Linked DNA regions of Homo sapiens: region 2 is linked to region 1. Evidence: promoter capture Hi-C in human tissues and cell types (Jung and others, 2019). All regions are on one chromosome and are shown on one strand. Each heading gives the region's core, a stretch centred on a gene start or on the middle of the fragment in contact. The rest is flanking DNA. Distances are from core to core; before and after follow the strand shown. Region 1 holds the start of LRRC8A (leucine rich repeat containing 8 VRAC subunit A). Region 2 overlaps SPTAN1 (spectrin alpha, non-erythrocytic 1).

What was found. Contacts are between HindIII fragments. The study calls those that stand out against the background at their distance.
Region 2: a contact is called between a fragment that was not itself captured here and the fragment with the promoter of LRRC8A in region 1, in 2 of the 25 tissues and cell types used here (dorsolateral prefrontal cortex and spleen).

The regions. Positions count from the first base shown.
Region 1 is chr9:128,879,547-128,886,101 of GRCh38, reverse strand. LRRC8A (leucine rich repeat containing 8 VRAC subunit A) reads right to left here and starts at 3,969. Exons shown (of 4, transcript NM_019594.4): 1 at 3,852-3,969; 2 at 1-87. It overlaps KYAT1-SPOUT1 (KYAT1-SPOUT1 readthrough), which reads left to right and starts at 4,152. Exons shown (of 25, transcript NR_182311.1): 1 at 4,152-4,205. It overlaps KYAT1 (kynurenine aminotransferase 1), which reads left to right and starts at 4,152. Exons shown (of 13, transcript NM_004059.5): 1 at 4,152-4,205. RefSeq lists enhancers at 1-656, 3,933-4,082 and a silencer at 3,623-3,902. The HindIII fragment of the contact is 17,929 bases long and covers 1-6,555 here.
Region 2 is chr9:128,617,539-128,624,093 of GRCh38, reverse strand. SPTAN1 (spectrin alpha, non-erythrocytic 1) reads right to left here. Exons shown (of 57, transcript NM_001130438.3): 42 at 6,334-6,454; 43 at 5,986-6,107; 44 at 5,091-5,223; 45 at 2,838-2,936. Among named protein-coding and RNA genes, the nearest start is that of DYNC2I2, 36 kb to the left of the region's middle. The HindIII fragment of the contact is 5,892 bases long and covers 531-6,422 here.

The DNA of each region.
Region 1 (6,555 bases), core at 2,720-5,219:
CTGCGCGTCGGCTGTCGGTGCTGAGGCTGGCCCGCGTCTGCCTGTGCAGGATCCTGGCATTCCTTTTGCTCCATGGACGCTGCCTCCCTACAAGGAAGCGAGAGCTGCCGTCAGCAGGCACATGTGTGACTGTCGCAGTTACCTGCCACACCGCCAGCACTTCCTGAGAGCCTGCTTGGTAGCAGGCCCTTGGCTGGGCTCTGGGGTGACAAAAGAGGTTTTTTTTGTATAGTGGTGCAATCTCGGTTCACTGCAACCTCCGCCTCCCGCATTCAAGTGATTCTCCTGCCTCAGCCTCTCGAGTAGATGGGATTTCAGGTGCGCACCACCAAGCCTGGCTAATTTTTTGTATTTTTAGTAGAGACAGCGTTTCCCCATGTTAGCCAGGCTGCTCTCAAACTCCTAACCTCCAGGGATCTGCCCGCCTCGGCCTCCCAAAGTATTGGGATTACAGGCATGAGCCACCGCGCCTGGCAGACAAAAGAGGTTCTGACAGAGCACCTCCCTCCAGAACCTGGTCTACTGAGGAGGTGCCAAGTCAGTAGCGACGGTCTGAGAGCTCAGAGCTCTGCTGCGGGGGAGCCAGGAGAAGCACTAGACCCAGACTAGTGGGGTCAGGGAAGGCTTTCTGGAGGAGGAGTTGTCTGAGTTGACTCCTAAGAGTAGGAGCTGGAAAAAGAGCATTCCAGGCAGGAGGAACAGCACATGTTTACCTGGAGGAGAGAGTACATGGCATCTGGAGAAGGCTTGCGGGCTCGGCATGGCGAGATCCAGAGCCAGAGAGGGGAAGTGGCAAGAGATGAGCCACAGTGGGGTGGCTGGGTCAGGCAGAGACCAGCCAGTGCCCAGACTCCAACTTAAACACCAAATCCACCCATCATCTCCGACAGTCAACCAGCCTCTGGTGAGCATCTACTCCATATGCGCCAGACACTGTGCAGAACTGTGCATGGGAGTGGCAGGGTAGGGAAAGCTGTGATCACTACGACACGGGTTTCGGGGAGCCAGGAGCTGGGAGAGTGGCCCAGCCACCAGAGAGAGCCAAAGGATCAGCAGGAGTTACCCAGGAAGGAGGAGGGCGGGGGTAGACAAAGACACCTGGACTGATCTAGGAGGGATGGCTGTTTTTCCATCATTTCTACCACTGGGTATTTACTATATTGACTAAGTTCCAGGCCCTGTGCTGGGAGGGCAGACATGGAAGATGGTCTCCGCCGTCATGGGAGGTAGGTCAATAACCCTGCAATTCCATACGGGGTGGTGGTGACTAGGCAGTAAAGTACCTACAGCTATATAGGCACGGAGGCCATCCAAGCCAACCTCTACCTCACTCTACCCTCCTTGTCAAGGATGGGGCACCCACTGAGGCTGGGTGGTCCAATCACCTGCCCATGGCAGAGCCAGGTCCAGAACTTGGGCCCCTGGACTCCCTGTCACTAATTATTCTAGTCCCTCCTCTTCCAGAAAGCATACCCTGACCACCCCCTACATAACCACCCAGAGCTAATTCCTTCTTCCTCTGGGCTGCCTCTGTAATATTTCTATTAATATGGTGGCCACAGTATATCAGAACTTATGTGTCTTCTGGTTTGCCTGTCCTCCCAGACTGCAGCTCTCAGGAGGCCAGGGATGTTTTCCCAGCCATCCCAGGCCCAAGACAGGCACTTTCTAAAGAATGGCTGAATGAATGAATGAATGAATGAATGAGTCAAGGCATGGAGAGACACTGTGCTGGGCTCTAAGAGCCCCACATCCATCCCACCTGAATCTCCAAGAGGTCTTGGCCCATCAGTGTGTGCCTCAGTTTCTCCATGTGAAAACCTGGAATCAGCTCTACTCTAAGACGAGGCAGTCAGGAACCAGGCTGATTTCCCTCCAACTCCTACAGGCAAGGTCCAGGCCAAGCCAGGCAGCAACCCAGGGTCCGGCCACTTCCCTGAGTTCTGACCCACGGCAGTGATCCCCAGGATTCCCTACAGTCCAGAAAGGTCATTCAAGAGTTTGCAAAGGAAACGGCTTCCTGGTGGGTGTGCCTAAGGGATGGAGAACCACCACATCTAGTCAAGTTCTGGGGGGAAGTCATGAACATTTCCTGTGCCCCCGCTCTGTTTTTTTTTTTGTTTTTTTGAGATGGAATTTTGCTCTTCTTGCCCAAGCTGGAGTGCAATGGCGCGATCTTGGCTCACTGCAACCTCTGCCTGCTGGGTTCAAGCAATTCTCCTGCCTCAGCCTCCCGAATAGCTGGGATTACGGGTGCGCAGCCCCATGCCTGGCTAATTTTTTGTATTTTTAGTAGAGACAAGGTTTCACTATGTTGGCCAGGCTGGTCTCGAACTCCTGACCTCGTGATCTGCCCGCTTCAGCCTCCCAACGTGCTGGGATTACAGGCGTGAGCCACCACGCCCGGCCCTGCACCCCCTGCTCTGTACCCTATGGTCCCTAGAACGCAGAGGGCATCAGACCCCATGCCAAAGCCCTGAGACCAGGAAAACAAGGAAGCAGAGACCAGCCACCCAGTCACTCATCCCTGGCATGTCCACAACAGCCTCCTCCAGCACAGGTCATCTGTCCTTGCCTCACTTCATGAGCCAGAGGAAGACTTGACCTTCATGGAAGCAACACCAGTGAGACTGAGCAATCAGCACTGCCCAGTCTCTCTGAACAAACTCCCACTCCCACATCCCCTCCACAGGAAGTATCAGCAACAGCCGATCTCCTCCCGCTTCTTACAGCCTGTCTGTCTGCCAGGTTGTCTGCTCCAAAGGGCAGAATACAGTTTGGCAGGGGTTAAGAGTACTACTAACAGAAGAGGTGGAAGAGGTCCTTGGGAACTTCGGGCTCCCCCAGTTCCCTTCCTCTTACCAGGTGCTCTCCCTCCACACCTCATTCTCAAAAGGCTTCCTGAGGTAGGGCAGGGGAAGAGGAGTCAGTGGAAGTGTGGCTCACCCAGGAACCGCCCACCCTTCCAGCCAAGTCTCCATCAGGAGGCGGCTACCAGACAACCCCCGACCCATCCCTCCTTCCCAAAAAAGGCAACAATCGCAACAGCTGAGAACCGGCAGACCTCGGTTCACCCCGGTCCAGATCAAGGGGAAGAAGCAGTCAGCGAAAGCAGCAGAATCATCATGAACTCCATGACCCCAGCTATGCCCCTTCAGCCTGGGAGCTCAGTTTGCTGGGTATCCAGCTCACCTAGGGCTGCACCAGGCCTGGACCTCACTGGATCTCGCCTCGCCCTCGGGCCCACCTGAATGCACAGGACTGGGACAGGGTCTGGGTTCTTAGATTCCGGACCGGTCTTCCCAAATATCCCATCCCAGAAAGGCCCCAAGAGCCTAGCCGGGGATCCTGCCCCCAAGTCAGGGCACTGCCCCCATCGGAACGATAGGAAGGAGGGGTGCAAGGGAAGAGAAGGGGACCAGGAACTCAGGAGAAGACAGCTAAGGAAATCTTTGAAAAAGAAATGGCAAGGAGAGAGCCCAGAGGTGGAACCTCTAGGAACGGGAGAGTGTGTGTGGAGGGGTGAGGATCTGGGGGGACCCAGGGGATGACAAGGGGACATGGGGGAGCCGAGGCGGAAACTCCTGGTTTCTGAAGCACAAGGAGGCACAGGGGTGCCTGGGAGGGGGCTCGCGCGCCGCGGAGCCGGCGAGAAGGTGGTGCCCCGGAGACTCCGGGCACTGGGGAGCCCAGAGGTAGGCCGAACACCGCGGGAGGTCCCCAGGGGGCCGGCCCGGAGACAGAGCCCCAGATGCCCCGGGCGCCCCGGGCCGGGCAGCTGGCCGAGGGCGTGTGTAAGTGGGTTTCGAGAGGTGACAGCTCGCGCCCCTTTCCCCACCCCGTCCACTCACCTGGGCTCGCCGCGCCCGGCCGCCCGGCAGGCAGCCCCAGGCCCCGGCCGCTCCGTCCCGCCGCCGGCCGCAGCGCTGCTCCGGCGCCTCCTTTTGTTTGTCCCTCACTGCACCACTCAGCCTCCTCCGCCCCGGAAGTGACGTCACCGCCGGGCGCGAACGCGGCGGCCAGGGCGTCGCCATCTTTATGAGGAGAATTCTAGCGGCGCTTTCTCCCGCTCTCGCCTCCGCGCTAGCGCCCTGCTGCTTCGGGGCGGAAGTAGCGGAGCCGGGCTCGGCCCCCTTAAAGGGACAGGGACTGCTGCAACCTACGGGGTGTACTTGGGAACGAGGGGTGAAGCGGCCCAGGTGAGGGTGAGTAGCTGTGTCGGAGCGCCACTTCCCCAAGGTCAGGTGCCGAGGCTGGGAGGGTCGGCTAACGGTTCCGAGCTTGGTTGTGCTAGAGTGCTTAATGAGTTTGATGCTACTAAGTATAACGGAGTGGCTGCACAGAATGATTGAGCCGCCCGCGGGAATCAACTGCGCGTGCTGCTCGCTGATTCTCGCTCGGACACTGGGGCTGGTCCTGTCTGCACCCAAATCCCCCTCCCACGACCGCGCCGGTGGAGATGATACCCGAGACAACAGAATTCTGGACAGATCTGGGGTTGGAATTGGGTCCCCAGACTCCAACTCTGCAGCTCCATAAATCCCGCTGGGTCCTCGCAAATTCCCTGGCTGATAACAGTACCGGCAACCAAATTAAAAAATAATCCATACAGTGGAATACTGTGCAGCCATTAAGACGAACAATGTTTAATATGCACTAATGTAGGGTGACTTCTAAGATACCTTAGGTTAAAAAAGGAAACAACAGTAAAAACAGCGTTGGGCCGGTTGCGGTGGCTCACGTCTGTAATCCCAGCACTTTGGGAGGCCGAGGCGGGCGGATCACGAGGTCAGGAGATCGAGACCATCCTGGCTAACTTGGTGAAACCTCATCTCTACTAAAAATACAAAAAAATCAGCCGGGCGTGGTGGTGGGCGCCTGTAGTCCCAGCTACTCTGGAGGCTGAGGCAGGAGAATGGCATGAACTCGGGAGGTGGAGCTTGCAGTGAGCCGAGATCGCGCCGCTGCACTCCAGCCTGGGCGACAGAGCGAGACTCCGTCTAAAAAAAGAAAAAACAGCGTTGATGGGTGCTATCCATCTTTGCGTAGAAGGACGCCTGAGGGTGGGCGTATCTGCGGGTGTGCGCGCCAGCTGTCTGATAAGATGCACAAGAAGTTGTTAATTGCGGTTGTCTCCGACAGAATTGGGGTCTTGGGTACCTGGGCCAGGGCGAGAAATTTACTACCATGTGCACAGATAGATAATTAAAAATAAGATGATGAAGATAGTCGTGGCTCCCATCCATCACGTGTTAAGCCAATGCCTAGTTTCACTTCTGTTGGGAGGTCTTATTTTTCCCTTTTAATAGAAGAGAAAAGAACCTTAGAGAGGTTAGGAAACTTAGCAATATCATAGCCAGGGCCGGGCGCGGTGGTTCACACCTGTAATCCCAGCACTTTGGGAGGCTGAGGCGGGCGGATCACGAGGTCAGTAGATCGAGACCATCCTGGCTAACACGGTGAAACCCCGTCTCTACTAAAAATACAAAAAAATTAGCCGGGTGTGGTGGCGAGCGCCTGTGGTCCCAGCTACTCGGGAGGCTGAGGCAGGAGAATGGCATGAACCTGGGAGGCAGAGCTTGCAGTGAGCTGAGATTGGGCCACTGCACTTCAGCCTGGGCAACAGAGCAAGACTCCGTCTAAAAAAAAAAAAAAATCATAGCCAGGAAGTGGAGAAGCTGGAATTTGAACCCTGGGAGATTTACACTAATGCCCATGATCTAGCTTATCCCTCGCCACTGAGATGCTTTTTCTGTTGTCAGTCACGCAACACCCGTCTTGGGGCCTGGCACACAACAGGCATCCAGTAACTATTTATTGACATGATGTGTGGTGTGAAAAGCAAACGTTGAAGGTCAGAGCCCAGGCTTAAAGTCCAGGGCTTGGGCACCTCTTTCCAACCTGTGGACTGTGGGCCTGCCAGGTACTCCGTGGGCCTCCATGTCCCCGCCTGTAAAATGAACAACCAGAACCACAGTTGTAGACAGTGAATGTTCCCACGTATTATACTTTGTATTTTACACGCAGATAAGTCTCATTTTACAGATAAGTGAGGCACAGAGAGATTAAGAAAGTTGCCAGAAGGGGGTTCCTACAGGTCTCCCTCCCTCCCTAGGAAGGCTGCTGGGCTCCCAGGCCTCTCCCTTAGCTTCCCAGGATCATCTGTGCTAATGCCTGGGGGACCTACTCTGTGCTGGGTGAGCTGCCAGAGGCTGAGGATCTGGTGGAGAACAGGTCAAGCACATAGTTCCTGTCCTTGGAGTTGAGCGCCCCCGTGCTGAGTACTTTGAGGGCGGAAGCCCAGGTCTTGGGACCACCTGGGAGGGGACATGTGGCTTAGCCTGGGTGGAGTCAGAAGGGGCTTCTCCAAGGAAGGGACTTTCAATGTGACTGGAAACTAGGATGTCCAGAAGGAGAAATGATGAGGCTGGAGACTCAAGGAGAGATGGGCTCCTACCCTGGACTTGGCCTTGGTGTCCACTAAGAAACTGAGGGTGACCAACAGGATTGGAGAATATACAAGTTAGACCCATTCAGTCTGGCTTCAGCAGGAAT
Region 2 (6,555 bases), core at 2,227-4,726, 260 kb after region 1:
TTTTTTTGAGACGGAGTGAATTTCACTCCGTCGCCCAGGCTGGAATGCAGTGGCGTGATCTCGGCTCACTGCAACCTCCGCCTCCCGGGTTCAAGAGATTCTCCTGCCTCAGCCTCCCGAGTAGCTGGGACTAATAGGCGAACACCACCATGCACAGCTAATTATTTTTAGTAGAGATGGGGGTTTCACCATGTTGGTCAGGCTGGTCTCGAACTCCTGACCTCAGGTGATTTGCCCACCTCGGCTTCCCAAAGTGCTGGGATTACAGGTGTGAGCCATAGTGCCCAGCCGGTCCAAGGAATTAATTCTAAAGAAATATGGGCCAGGCGCAGTGGCTAACGCCTGTAATCCTAGCACTCTGGGAGGCTGAGGTGGGCAGATCATTTGAGGCCAGGGGTTCAAGACCAGCTTGGCTAATATGGTGAAACCCTGTCTCTTCTAAAAAATACAAAAAAAAAAAAAAAAAAAAAATTAGCCAGGTTTGGTGGCACTCATCTGTAATCCCAGTGACCCAGGAGGCTGAGGGATGAGAACTGCTTGAACCTGGGAGGTGGAGGCTGCAGTGAGCCGAGATCATGCCACTGCACCCCAGCCTGGGCAACACAGCAAGACTCTGTCTCAAACAAAAAAAACGAATGGGCTGAAATTTGAAGTTAAGATGATATATTCATTAGTATTATTTTTGATAGAAAAAAACTGAATCATATCACTTAAAATACTACACATACAGGGCTGGGTGCAGTGGCTCACTCCTGTAATTTCAGCACAAGGCGAGAGAATCACTTGAGCCCAGGAGTTGGAGACCAGCCTGGGCAACATAACATAGTGAGACCCCATCTCTTAAAAAAAAAAAAGAAAAAAAGAAAGAAATTAGCCAGGTGTGTTGACACCCACCTGTGGTCCCAGCTAGCTAGGGAAGCTCAGGTGGGAGAACTGCTGAAACCCGGGAGGCAGAGGCTACAGTGAGCCGAGATCGTGCCACTACACTCCAGCCTGGGCGACAAGAGCAAGACTCCATCTCAAAAAATAAAAATAAAAAAATTGGCTGGGTACAGTAGCTCACGCCTGTAATCCCAGCACTTTGGGAGGCCGAGGCAGGCGGATCATGAGGTCAGGAGTTTGAGACCAGCCTAACCAACATGGTGAAACCCCATCTCTAATAAAAATACAAAAATTAGCTGGGCGTGGTGGCAGGCGCCTGTAACCCCAGCTACTCAGGAGGCTGAGGCAGGAGAGTCACTTGAACCCAGGAGGTGGCGGTGGCAGTGAGGTGAGATTGCGCCAGTGCACTCCAGCCTGGGCCACAGAGTGAGACTCCGTCTAAAAAATAAATAAATAAATAAATAAATAAATAAACCATACTACAAGTCACATTGAATTTAAAGAGAAATTCTTTAACACCTGTGGAAAGGGGGAAAATAAAAAGAAAAAAGAATTGAAAGATAAATTCAAAGAGGAAACAGGCTGTCGCTGAGGACAAAGCAGCCGGCTCGCTGGCCGGGGGTGGTGGCTCATGCCTGTAATCCCAGCACTTTGGGAGGCCGAGGAGGGCGGATCACCTGAGGTCAGGAGTTCGAGACCAGCCTGACCAACATGGAGAAACCCCATCTCTACTAACAATACAAAATTAGCCGGGCATAGTGGCACATGCCTGTAATCCCAGCTACTAGGGAGGCTGAGGCAGAAGCATCGTTTCAACCTGGGAGGTGGAGGTTGCGGTGAGCCCAGATCACACCCCTGCACTCCAGCCTGGGCAACAAGAGCGAAACTCCGTCGCAAAAAAAAAAAAAAAAAAAAAAAGCAGCTGGCTCGTTGCCAGGAGGCTGAAGGACACTCACACTGGTGATCTCCTGGCTTGAAGAACAGAGAATGTTGTCTGGGTGTGTGTCAGGGGGTTAAGTGTGCAGGAGCCACGTCTACATCTATACATGGCTGTAGCTGAAATTAGTTTCACGCAAGTTTATTTGCAGATCAGAGCAAGGAAGAAAAGCTCTCCAGTGAAGTGGATTTTAGCTACATTGTTGCTGCCTATGGATCAAACCCTAGTCTGAAGGCCATGACTGCTGAGTGCAACCTCTGTGATGAGAAATCTTACTCATGATGTGTGTGTGACAGGAAACCATAGCTGTTAAAACCTCTGTCCTGAGGCACTCCAGGTGCGTCACTGCACCTGAGTGATTGCTGGTGAATTCCCGACCCACGGACACACTGCCTTCAGTCTAGAGCTTCTGTGTGGGAGGGATGTGGCTTCGCTGCTGCTGAGAAAGCACCAAGCCCCTTTATTTTTTCTCCCAAAAGGGCTGCGAATGAAGTAGATTCATTTCTAAAATGCCCTGTACAGCCTCGAGGTTTTTGATAATTTATGGAGTGATATGATCCTATTAAACGGGAGTCTGCGGCTGTTTGATCTAGCTGGTAGCTCTAAACCTGTGGAGAGAAAAGAAAGGTCTGGCAGGTCAGACACAAAGATCTAATGTGTGGTGTCAGGGTGGGGCTTTATGGGTAATTTTTATTTTATGTTTTGCTTATTTGCATTTTCTACTGTCCCTATAAAGAGACTGTATTGCTTGAGAAATAAACTAAGAGCAGCATTTGGGAGTGCCAGTGTCTCTGTTGCTTAATGCAGAAAAAATAAGCACTGCAGAATAACTTTACTGGCTTCAAAAAGGGGGAAATATCCAACTTGTCACGAAACACAGGAATGGAATTGCTGCTGGTCTCCACGCAGACCTTGGTTTGGTGAACATCCCAGGAAGTGAACTTTGGGGGACCTCTGTGGTACCAACACGTGGGTGTCCCAGTGGGCGATGGAGGTCTTACCAATGGGCTGGACTCACCTTCTTAATGAGGTCTTGTCCATTGGTGCAGACATCATTCACGCGATCCTTGTGGACGGTGAAGTCTGTCTCAAAAGCTTCATGTTTCTTCAGTAAGCCCTGGAGTAGAAGCAGCCAAGGCACACTATTGAGAGCCTGCTATGTGTTGTGGGCTAGGCCCCGGGGACAGAGAGTGACAAAACTGCTATGGTCCCTGTCCATGCACACATTACAGTCTAGCTGGGGAAGAGGATAATAAAGAGGAACATTAATAAATAGAGAATCATAAAAGGAAGGAAAACAGGAGGCAGTGAGGCAGTGAGAGTAACCAGCAGTGGTGGGACAGGCTTCAGCAGGGACAGTCTTTGGACCTTTGGGAAGGGTCAAACCCTTTGTCATCCATCAACAGTGACTTATGGTCTCTCCCCCAAGAGGACCACAAGAATGACACAAAGCAAGCTGAAGATATACACCCAAACAAAAACGACACATTTTTAAGGTTTAACTTGAACACATCTCAGAAAAGGCCTTCCAAGTCATGTCTTTTTTTTTTCTTTTTGAGACGGAGTTCTTGCTCTATTGCCCAGGCTGGAGTGCAGCAGCGTGATCTTGGCTCACTGCAACCTCTGCCTCCCAGGTTCAAGCGATTCTCCTGCCTCAGCCTCCCAAGTAGCTGGGATTACAGGTGTGCACCACCACACCCAGCTAATTTTTGTAGTTTTTAGTACAGACGGGGTTTCACCATGTTGGCCAGGTTGGTCTCGGACTCCTGACCTCAGGTGATCTGCCCACCTTGGCCTCCCAAAGTGCTGGGATTACAGGTGTGAGCCACCGCACCTGGCCCCAGGTCTTTTCCTTAGTACAATTTAAGCACTGCAGACCATGCCTTTTTGGTTGCTTCCAGGGAACTCAACTATGCAGAGGATGGGAAATGACTGACCATCTAAATTCTACCTGAATCACCCTGACCAGCGGGAGGATGCTTCCCATGGTGAGGAAGGTGGCTCAAAGCTAACTCGATTCCTGGGAGTGCACACTCCTGCTTCCACATCTGGGGGCAGGAATTTAGTCATATCTGACCATGATACTTTGCAGCATCTCCTTTCCAGAGGGGAATCTATCCACCTATGCCTCTGGGCTGCCTTGGGACTTGCTTTGGCCAGAAGGCAGTGAGGATGATGTGTGAGGCCGCAGACATCTTGCAGCTCCTGCCTTTGCCTGTCTGAATGCTGCTGAAGGAGGTTGGTCTAGCCAGCTTGAGGACAACAGGCCATGTGGAGGGGAACAGAGATGTCCAGGCTGGATGACAATCAGGCTCAGCTGCCAGTGTGTGATGGATCTCTCAGCCCAGCCACGCTCTGCCTGAATGCAGGAGCGTGAAGGACCTCCAGTGACAGCTGCAGATGCCGCTGATCCACAGATCCATTGGAAGTAAGAAATGGGTGCTGCTTTCAACCACTACATTTAGGCGGGTTGTTATGTAGCAACAGTTAACCAATTTAGGGAGTATGTGATGGGCTGAACTGTGTCCCCCTCAAGAGATGGTGAAGTCCTAACTTCTGGTACCCATGAATGTGGAAACAAGATCTTTGCAAATGTCCTCTGCAAAGGTAAGATGAGGTCATTAGCGTGGACCCTAATCCAATAGACCTGATGTCCCTACAACAGAACACAGAAATGTGAATAGACACACAGAGTGATGCCAAGTGAAGACAGACTCAGAGGGAAGATGGCTACGTGAAGACAGGCAGAGACTGGAGTGATGCTGCCACATGCCAAGGGCGCCTGGTGCCAGCAAAAACTGGAAGAGGCAAGGAAAGATCCTCCCCTACAGGTTTGCAGAACATGGTCCTGCCTGCTTCTTGATTTCAGACTTCTGGCCTCCAGAACTGAGAAGCAATAAATCTCTGTTGTCCTCAGCCACTCCATCTGTGCCACTCTGTCTGTGGTACTCCGTTCGTGCCACTCCGTTTGTGGTACTTATTTATGGCAGCCCCAGGAAACTGATATGAAGACTCAAGCCCACAGCGCTGCCTGGTGAATGACAGGGCCCGTGAACTGAGACTGACAAAGCCATACCAATTTTGTTTACTGAAGGGTGATGTCCCCTAGTGTGAGATCTTGAGGGCTAAAACCAACTACTGAGGCCTTGGCTGCTGGCCCTGTGTGCTCTCCTAGTAAGAGCAGGGCCCTCTAACAAACCAACAGGGAAATGATGACCAGCAGGCAGTTGCCAAGAGAGAAAGCAGGTGACACCTTTGGTTTCTGTCTCACCTGGATGGCGGCAAGAGTGTCGCCATAATCTTCGCTGGCCACCAGGGTCATTTTCTCATTGATCCAGGCTTCTTCCTCTTCCACATTGGCTACAAACTGCTGATATTCCAAGGACTCTTCCAGCCGCTGACCCCTAATTACAGGAGACAGGAAGAAAATCAGCCATAATCTCCTCCAGCTTTGATTGTGATAGTTAACATATGCTTAAAAACAGTCACAAAAGCTGGGCATGGTGGCTCATGCCTGCAATCCCAGCACTTTGGGAGGCCGAGGCGGGCAGATCACGAGATCAGGAGATCGAGACCATCCTGGCTAAGACGGTGAAACCCCGTCTCTACTAAAAATACAAAAAATTAGCTGGGCTTGGTGGCGGGTGCCTGTAGTCCCAGCTACTCGGGAGGCTGAGGCAGGAGAATGGCGTGAACCTGGGAGGCAGAGCTTGCAGTGAGCCGAGATTGTGCCACTGCACTCCAGCCTGGGTGACAGCAAGACCCCGTCTCAAAAACAAAAACAAAAACATTCACAAAAAAGGTGAGCCCTCACAGTCAGTCAGGCCGTCCATGGAACATCATGAATCACCCACTCTGTGATTCCAGACTCTCATGTCTTGATTTCTGGAGAATCATGTGTGATTCATGTGTGATTCATGTGTGATTCTGGACTCATACAGAAACATGTATGATTCTGGACTCATACAGTGGGTCCAGATGAACAGAATGAGACCACCTCAGCATGGCCTGTAGGAGGTGGCTCTGGAGCAAACCGACTATGGCACATGTGAGGCCAAAGGTCCAGGAGACAGTAGGAGGGCCCACTGGACCCCCACAGCTCAGAGTCTGCCCTTGGGTGCTGGCCTTCCACTTGTTCCCGGGAGCTCCTGCCTCTGACTACTCACCGGGCAGCTGCCAGCTGCTTCAGCTCTTTCCAGTGCTCCACAAACTGCGCCAGCCGCTGCTGGATCTCCTCTTTCCCGATGGTGTTGTCATCGGACAGCTTCTTGCCAGTGTCCAGGACACCCTGACAGGCAAGGACGAGGAGGTTAACAGCAGGTAGCTCTTCTGGTGCTTCTGTCTCGAAGCTCCCAGGAAAAGGCCTCAACATCAAGTTTGGGACTTCTCCAGGTTTGGACTGAGGGGTCATGAACACTTTAGGGACCTCAGTGAAATAAGCGCAAGGGGTTTGTCTGTCCCCTGGGGCCCACTCAAACACCTCTGCCCTCTTGGCCAGAAGGCGGCCTCCTTACCTGAATAGCCGGCTCATGCGCAGCCAGTTCTGCTTCCAGCCGCTTGTGCTTCTTCCTCAGGTTCTGCACGCCGGTTAGGTCCCGGCCGTAGTCCTCTGAGCCCACCAGCAGCTTCTTCTCCCTGAATGAGAGATGGGAAACAGCACAGTCAGTCTCTGCACCTCCCTGCTTTCAAGTGGGGACATCAGGTCAACTGTGGACCTCACAGACATCTACTAATCT